Regions from separate parts of the Homo sapiens genome. Here all the other regions are linked to region 2. Evidence: promoter capture Hi-C in human tissues and cell types (Jung and others, 2019). All regions are on one chromosome and are shown on one strand. Each heading gives the region's core, a stretch centred on a gene start or on the middle of the fragment in contact. The rest is flanking DNA. Distances are from core to core; before and after follow the strand shown. Region 1 overlaps UBE4B (ubiquitination factor E4B). Region 2 holds the start of CTNNBIP1 (catenin beta interacting protein 1). Region 3 holds the start of PIK3CD (phosphatidylinositol-4,5-bisphosphate 3-kinase catalytic subunit delta).

What was found. Contacts are between HindIII fragments. The study calls those that stand out against the background at their distance.
Region 1: a fragment that was not itself captured here is called in contact with the fragment with the promoter of CTNNBIP1 in region 2 in 2 of the 25 tissues and cell types used here (dorsolateral prefrontal cortex and hippocampus).
Region 3: the fragment with the promoter of PIK3CD here is called in contact with the fragment with the promoter of CTNNBIP1 in region 2 in 3 of the 25 tissues and cell types used here (adrenal gland, small bowel and spleen).

What each region holds. Positions count from the first base shown.
Region 1 is chr1:10,180,453-10,183,152 of GRCh38, forward strand. It overlaps UBE4B (ubiquitination factor E4B), which reads left to right. Exons shown (of 28, transcript NM_001105562.3): 28 at 1-787. Among named protein-coding and RNA genes, the nearest start is that of KIF1B, 29 kb to the right of the region's middle. The HindIII fragment of the contact is 5,206 bases long and covers 1-2,700 here.
Region 2 is chr1:9,909,000-9,911,699 of GRCh38, forward strand. It overlaps CTNNBIP1 (catenin beta interacting protein 1), which reads right to left and starts at 1,270. Exons shown (of 6, transcript NM_020248.3): 1 at 1,096-1,270. RefSeq lists silencers at 818-877, 1,048-1,107, 1,118-1,717 and enhancers at 1,865-2,538, 2,539-2,700. The HindIII fragment of the contact is 11,728 bases long and covers 1-2,700 here.
Region 3 is chr1:9,650,292-9,652,991 of GRCh38, forward strand. PIK3CD (phosphatidylinositol-4,5-bisphosphate 3-kinase catalytic subunit delta) reads left to right here and starts at 1,440. Exons shown (of 24, transcript NM_005026.5): 1 at 1,440-1,511. It overlaps PIK3CD-AS1 (PIK3CD antisense RNA 1), which reads right to left. Exons shown (of 2, transcript NR_027045.1): 2 at 2,319-2,700. RefSeq lists a silencer at 1,353-2,242 and an enhancer at 2,423-2,492. The HindIII fragment of the contact is 15,008 bases long and covers 1-2,700 here.

The sequences.
Region 1 (2,700 bases), core at 57-2,556, 270 kb after region 2:
CCCTGGCCCTCCAAACATATATTCTGTGAGATAACTGTGCCTGCTACCAAGTGTTAATCCTGGGATCGTATTTTTATATCATATTCACATATTTGTTTTTTTAATTGGTGTTAGATGACATGATTAATAAAAAAGGCAAGATATTTTCAGAATTTGAATTTCAGTTTTTTTTTTCTTTTGAAATGTCCCTTTAAGATTTTTTTATTCTAAACAAAATAAAGAAAATCCTGCTGCTCTGGTCCTTGTGATAAGCCTCTCTTCGGCATCTGAGGAGCAGCTGCAGCAAAATCTAGGGGTGTAAGTGTATCAGGACTTATGTGACTTATATTTTGGGGAGATGAGGGTTGGGTTTTTTTTTTAATGCTACGTGACAGTTTGAAACCTTCACAGTTATCCTCTGGGGGTAAATCAATTCTTCAACCCTTGGGTGTGTGAGTTTGAGGCAGGGTCATTTGTGTGATGTGTTTGGCCTTACCAAAGCAAAAGAGGGTGCAAGAATGTGGGAGTATGTCTGCCGGTTTCAACACACACAGACAAACACAGCCACACGCGCACACAAGTATAAGACTTTTTGTATTACTGCTCCCTACTTAACATACTTGAATTCTCAAATTTCCTTTGGGGTAAAAAAAAAAAAAGGATTTGAAACCATAAAGTGTTCTGAAGAAATTAAGTCTATAAAAAGCATACTTTCTTTTTTCTTTTCCTTTTTTCCCTCCACAGACAATGTCCTCTGTTCAATTCCTAACGCAAACTACAATAAATGGTGACACACGTTCAGAAGAAATCTTCTTTGAGTCTCTTCTCTTTTGTGGAAAAAAAAAAAGGGCAGGGCGGGTGGGTAAACAAGAGCCAAGTGAGTTTGCATGTGGTGAATGATCTTTCCTGGATCCAATTAGGAGCTGCTATTTTTAAAAGAAAACTTTCTTATTCATGTCAGTCTCGACATTTGGTTCTCATTTCACTGTTTGCTGATTTGAGGGGGTAAGCTTTGTCATATTCAGTCTTCTGCCTTTCTTGAGTTTCTTCTGCTTTATCTCAAGTATCTTCCCTGACCTTCAAGATTCTTCCTCAGGCCGGGCCCGGTGGCTCACGCCTGTAATCCCAGCACTTTGGGAGGCTGAGGCGGATGGATCACCTGACGTCAGGAATTCGAGACCAGCCTGGCCAGCATGGTGAAACCCCATCTCTACTAAAAATACAAAAAATTAGCCGGGCGTAGTGGCAGCGCCTGTAGTCCCAGCTACTCGGGAGGCTGAGACAGGAGAATTGCTTGAACCTGGGAGGTGGAGGTTGCAGTGAGCCGAGATGACGTCATCACACTCCAGCCTGGGTGACAGCGAGACTCCGTCTCAAAAAAGAAAAAATATATATTTATATATATTTACATATATATTTATTTATATATATTTATATATATATATATAACATGGCCAGGTGCGGTGGCTCACGCCTGTAATCCCAGCACTTTGGGAGGCCAAGGCAGGTGTATCGTCTGAGGTCAGGAGTTCTAGACCAGCCTGGCCAACATGGTGAAACCCCATCTCAACTGAAAATACAAAAATTAGCTGGGCGTGGTGGTGGGTGCCTATAATCCCAGCTACTCGGGGGGCCGAGGCAGGAGAATTGCTTGAACCCAGGAGGTGGAGGTTGCAGTGAGCTGAGATCGCGCCATCGCACTCCAGCCTAGGGGACAAGAGTGAGACTTCGTCTCAAAAAATAGATAGATAGATAGACACAATAAATAAGGAAAAAGTTCATGATAGCAAAAATTTTAGGCAATATAAGCAAAAAGAAAAAAAATCCATATTCTCACCATGCAGAAGATTCTGTTTAATTGGGTTTACTTTTTACTAAACTTACATATCTAAGCTTAGTGCCTGTAGAATTAGGATACTGACTGGCATCTTGCCTAATTTTGTTTGTGTGGTTATCTGACCAGTGTGTACTGCTTGTCTCCTCTCCATCCCAGATTCCAAACTCTTATTTTAATCCTCCAGTTGTCCCCGTGAATGTAATAAAATGCTGCTTTATACCGCCATATGCACTTGTCGTTTTGAATAATTCAGAGGTTTCAAGGACCTGCCGGATAGGACAGAGACACAGTCAGTCTCCTGCCTGTACTATCTATAGGGGGAAGATGATTTGGGTTTCCATTTTTAGAGTCTCAAGAGTTGCTGTTTTGTGTTTGTCTGCAGTCTCTTAATTGTGGATATTGAAATAAATCCCAAAATATATTAAAAGTAGGTCTTGGCTAAAAGGAAGATTGTCAAATAAGAGAATCAGATTGGCAGAAGAGAAATGATCCTTGAGAGAAAGATGATTAAAATCTGCCTTGTGTTGTGACTCAGTGTTGTGTAGATTTTAAAAAGATATTGATTGAATATCTTTTGAAAAAAAAGCTGAGCACACCGTTCACTTTTTGTAACCTCTGGGTTTGGTACATCGAGTAGTGAATTTCACAGCAATTTGATTGGAGTGCTAAAGTGACATGAATAGGCCTCATTTGAGTAGGTACTTTTTTTTGTTTTTTGGTTTTTTTCAGACGGAGTCTCGCTCCGTCACCCAGGCTGGAGTGCAGTGGCGCAATTTTGGCTCATTGCAACCTCCACCTTCCAGGTTCAAGTGATTCTCCTGCCTTAGCCTCCCGAGTAGCTGGGACTAGAGCACATGCCACCATGTCCAGCTAATTTTTTTTTT
Region 2 (2,700 bases), core at 20-2,519:
TCCTACTTTAAATCTGAGGAAGCTGCTGGTATCTCTGGACATTTTAATGGCACAAGAGATCAGTTATCACTTGGGGACACACTCCAGGAACTGGAGCCCAGTGGTTGTAGCAGGGAGCTAAGAGCCAAGGCTCCTGCGAACAGAACTTCAAGACAAACCATGACTTGCCTCCAGGTCCCTTACCCACACACCCTGTACCTCAATTTACCCAGCAGTTGGCCAGACATGTTCCTCTCAGTTCTGTGAGTGACAGGAGACAAAATAATTCACAGCTGGAGCATACTGAGATCCTCAGACAGGAGGTGGTGCAAGCCACACGTCTCATTATTCATAAAACTCTTGATTTGCGGCCAACACGGCCCCCGCCGCCTTCCCAGGGGCTAACCTGACAACAGGCACTGCTCAGACAAGTTCAGCTCACAAGGCAGAGGGAGGGATGGAGGGCCTAGCAGAGGCTGGGTGTCCAGACCTGAGTGTCTCGGTTACCAGGTTCCAAAAAAAGGAAGGTGGTTGGGGTGGGGTGATGAAAAGGAGGTGAGAGGTGCAGTTTGGGGCTCCAGGTGGTTAATTTTGCAGGTTCGTGCATACACGCCCGCCATCCAGGTGAGATATGTGCCCCCACCAGGTACCTTCCAGGAAGGCTCACCGGGGAGGGGTGGAATCGGGAGACGACAGTTCAATCAAACTACAGAGGGAGGAAGGGCGGCCCAGCGTTTAGTTTGGGGAAATATGGAGAGTAAGAGTCTCAGAGTGGGCGCAGGTGAGGGAAGAGGCAGGGGCCCAGAGGTCGGGAGGGCGGACGGGCGATGACAGGCACCCGGACGCGGTGAGGTGAGCAACAAGGTGGGCGGCGCGGACACCTGTGGAGGCGACCCCCGGGCGAAGAGTCAGGGAGGCGGGAGGTGGTCTGCGGCGAGAGGCGGCCAGGCCCAGACCAGGGCGCCGCGCCGCTGGGGCAGTCAGGGGTCCGAGCGGGGTCGGGGGCGCTCTCCGCGGCCCCTCCCCGGCAGACAAAGGGCTGGCCGCTCCCCCAAGCCCCGGCGCGGCGCGGCGCGGGCCCGGGCGGTGCAGGCGCGGCCCGGCCTCGGCGCTTACCTGGGCCGCCCGACCCGGCCGGGCCGGCAGGGGCAGCGGGTCCGGCGCGCAGCGCGCGGCGGCCTGTTCCGGGGCGTGCTCAGCCCGAGCAGCCGCTGCGGCGGCGGCAGTAGCAGCAGCAGGAGCGGCCGCCTCAGCCTCCGCCTCCCGCTCCGAGAGTCACCGCGGTGGGGAGGGAGGGAGGCGCCAGGCCGCCGGGGGAGGGACCGGCGGAGGGGGCGGCATCTGGCTCCGCGCGGGCTGCTGAGGCGCGGCGGCGGCAACGCCCCGGAGGGAGGCGGGCGCGTGGGGCCGGGCGCCGGGGCGGGGCCTGCGGGCGGGGCGGGGCCCGGGGCCGCGAATTGGTTAACTCAGCCTGTGGGCGGGGCTGCGCGGTGCGGGGCGGGGCCTTGTGGCGCATGTGAACGCTCATTGGGCCCTCCTGGAAGGGGGCGAGACCAGCGACATAGGGACGGGGCCATGCGGTGGGCGGGTGGAACACGGCGCCGGTAGTGAGTGGCCGAGTCCGCGCTGAGAGCAAAGGGGAGGAGCGGGCCGGGGGTGAGCAGGGAAGGCGGGTTGGGCGCGAGGAGGAGGCGGTGGCCTGGAGGAGGAGCCGGGTAAGGCTGAAGCTGGCGCTGCGGTAAAGCCACTCTGCGTGTCCCTATCTGCTCCAGGAGCACAGTGTTCCGGAAAAATAATGGCCTCTCCCACACACCGGTCTGTGTTTAAAAACGGGAGCAACAAGACGGGGCAGAATCCTTGGTGAGGCCAGTTTACCCAGAACCCCGGAAAATTCTGAAATGGACGAGGTTGCAGAACATTTAGAGGCGTGGTCTTCCTGCGTCGTTGAGCTGGGAACGTTGCTACCTCTGAGCTTGGGGCCTAACCTGGGATTAACCTAGCCCAGAGAGCCCAGGGATGGGCCTCCGTAGGTCCATTAAACTCAGAAGGTCGTGTGTACTGGTAGTGAGTGGATTTTTCGGGGGAAGGGTGCCCATGATTAAAATGTTTCTACAGAAAGTCTGGCTGTATTTGGAGAGGGTACAGGGAGAAGCAGCCCATTTTAGGTAAAATGCAAATTGCTTTTAACATCCGCCTTCCTTTTAAAGGGACCTGTATCTTTAAGTGTGGTCTCATTTTCAGCAGTTTAAATTATCAGTTACACAGTGTGACACTAACCCCAGTTCAGAAGCCCTCCTACCCTACTCCTCCCACAGCCTTTCTTTTTACACCTTTTCTGTACCATCCTCTTCCACTCCACATTTCTTCCCCTTCCCTATGCAAAAAGAATACGAAGTCCTTTTTTGTTTGTTCGTTTATAATATAATATCCACATTACTCTTTACTCATTTGGGGGGTTTTTTTGTTTTTGAGAGGGAGTCTCGCTCTGTCGCCCAGGCTCAGGTGCAGTGGCGCGATCTTGGCTCACCGCAACCTCCGCTTCCCGGGTTCAAGCGATTCTCCTGCCTCAGCCTCCTGAGTAGATGGGATTACCGGCATGCGCCCCGGCTAATTTTTGTATTTTTAGTAGAGACGGGTTTTCTCTATGTTGGCCAGGCTGGTCTCCAACTTCTGACCCCAAGTGGTCTGCCCGCCTCGGCCTCCCAAAATGCTAGGATTACA
Region 3 (2,700 bases), core at 190-2,689, 260 kb before region 2:
TGCACCTATAGTCCCAGCTACTCAGGAGGCTGAGGCAGGAGAATTGCTTGAACCCAGGAGGCTGAGGCTGTGGTGAGCCAAGATCACGCCACTGCACTCCAGCCTGGGCAACAGAACAAGATTCCTCAAAATAAACAAAACAAAGAAACAAAACAACAAAAAACAAACAAAAAAACATGAAAATCAGCTGGGTGTCGTGGCGTGTGCCTGTAATCCCAGCTACTTGGGAGGCTGAGGTAGGAGAATTGCTTGAACCCAGGATGCAGAGATTGCAGTGAGCCGAGATGGCACCACTGCATTCCAGCCTGGACAACAGAGCAAGACTGTCTCAAAAAAAAGAAAAGAAAAAAGAAAAAGAAAGAAAAGAAAAGAAAAAAAGGAATAGAGGCTTGGGATCCTGGGGAGGTGGTACACAAGTTAAGGGAGAGTGAGGGGAGAGAGGGTAAGGTGAATGAAGCTTGTCTTCTTATGCGGATAAAATTTCTCAGGTAAGAAAAGTTAGCTCTGAGCAGCCCTCCGCCTGATACTAATACTTTACCAATGGAGATTTTCCTTTTCTTTTCTGTTTTTGAGACAGGGTCTCACTTTGTTTCCCAGGCTGGAGTGCAGTGGTGCCATCATGGATCACTGCAGCCTCCATTTCCCTGGCTCAAGCCATCCTCCCACCTCAGCCTCCCGAGTAGCTGGGACTACAAGGTGTGCACCACCACGACTGGCTAATTTTTAATTTTTTTGTAGAGACGGGGGTTTCCCTATGTTGCCCAGGCTGGCTTGAATTCCTGGGCTCAAGTGATCCTCCCGCCTCGGCCTCCCAAATTGCTGGGATTGCAGGAGTGAGCCACAGTGCCAGGCCTGGAGATTTTCTTTATAGATAGAAATCATTTTACAAAAGGACAGCTTTTCAGATCTACTCCTGTGCCTGCAGTTTCTAAGAATAATCCCTTCAAAATATGGCGAAGAAGTATATTTTGGGGTGGCACACGCTGGTCTCCCATAGTCACATTTTGGGTGTGTGTCCTGAGCCCCAACACTGGTCACCTCGCAATGGCGCTTGGGGTCCCTGGGTGCCTAGAGCTGCAGGTTACCCCCTCTTCTTCTCCTGCTCTCAGCCTTTCTCCCGCTCCTGCTGAAATTCTTTCCTGCGTGAAGGCGGAGCGCTTAAAGGCGCCTAGGACCTTTATTTCGTTGTTTTCCTTTGCATAAAAAGAAAACTTGTTTTGTAGAAGGGCAAGCAAGGTGCAGCTTCCAGAGGCACCTGGGATGATGCCCCTCTAGCGGTAGGCGAACTGGGGAGTGTGGGCGGCGGGGGAAGGCGAGGCCCTGGAGGACCTGTTGTTTTTCCTGTTGCAAGTGAAAAGGAAACAAAGTGGGAAGTGGAGTGTGCGGGTTGGCGGCAGGCGGGGCGCCCCGGCGCGCCCCGCCTCCCTCCCTCGAGGCTCACTCGCGCCCAGCGCAGTCGCTCCGAGCGGCCGCGAGCAGAGCCGCCCAGCCCTGCCAGCTGCGCCGGGACGGTAAGCGATCGCCGCTGGCTGCGTCAGGGGAGGTGGGAAGAGGACCGCGGCCAGGGGCTTTGGGAGCTGCGGCTGCGCTCGGGGGCGCGGGGCTGGCTGGCGGGCGTCTCTCCGGCACACACAGCCCGTGCGCCCTGGCCCTGGGCGCCTCCCCGAGTCTAGCGAGCCGGGTCCTGGGAGCCCCGGGGGCCGGGCTGCTGGGACCTGGGCGGGGGCTGCCCTAGAGGCCCGGGGCCGTCCCCCGTGGGCCCGCCGAGAGGGGCGTGCGCAGCTCCCCGGCGCCTGCACTGCGCGCCTTGCCCGCCTGGCCCGGCAGCGGGGTTTCAGCTGCGCTCACAGCGGCGGTGCGGCCTCCGGTGCGCCGGCTGAGGCGCGAGGATACTGGAAGCGCTCAGCGCGTGCGCCCGCTCCGAGCGCTGACTAGAGGACCAGGGGCCTCCTCTGTACGGCAGCGGGGTCCACAGAGAGCGCGCTGGTGATGTCGCCCGAGTGCCCTGGCGCGGAGAGAGGGCTGCGCACAGTTCGCCGGCGCCCGGGTCCTGTGCGCCCTTCCCAGCCTGGGCAAGTGGGGAGCGGGGCTGCAGAGGGGCCGGGGTGGAAGTTTTCGGGGCTTCCTCCCGGCTCGTGGACCCGCGCCCCGCCTCCCAGTCCCGGGCCTCCCGCGTTGCTCGCCGCGTTTGCTGCAGCGGCGCAGGCGAGATCAGCTCCGGATCTGCGGCCGAGCCGGGGTTACGCCGGCAAAACCGCCCCCAGCTTTGCATTTCCGGACTTTTTAAAAAAATACTCTTACCCGTAATTCAGCCTGAATGAGGCTTTTTAAAAAAATCGAGTTTCCTGTTTTTATTTAGGCTTCCTCATTTGCACCTCCTCCTTTGAGGTAGAGAAGAGGGGAACTGGGACGACCTTTCGTGGGCACCAGGATGGGGGCGTTGCAGGGCGGGGAGACGGGGGTCCAGAGAACCGGGGAAGGGCCGCTGGGAGGTCCCGAAAAGTGCGCTGTGGGTGGGGCGAGGGTGAAGCAGGTAGGGGCGAGATTTCCGGGGTCGCGGGTGGGGGGCGCCCTGGAGCGGCCAAGGTGCAGGGTCCTCGCGTGGCACCCTTGGGATCTGCCCAGTTTGCGGATGGAGCGCGGGGCTGATCGGGCAGGTCTCACTTGTGCAGGTGTTCCCTGGAAGGTGGGACCTGCAGA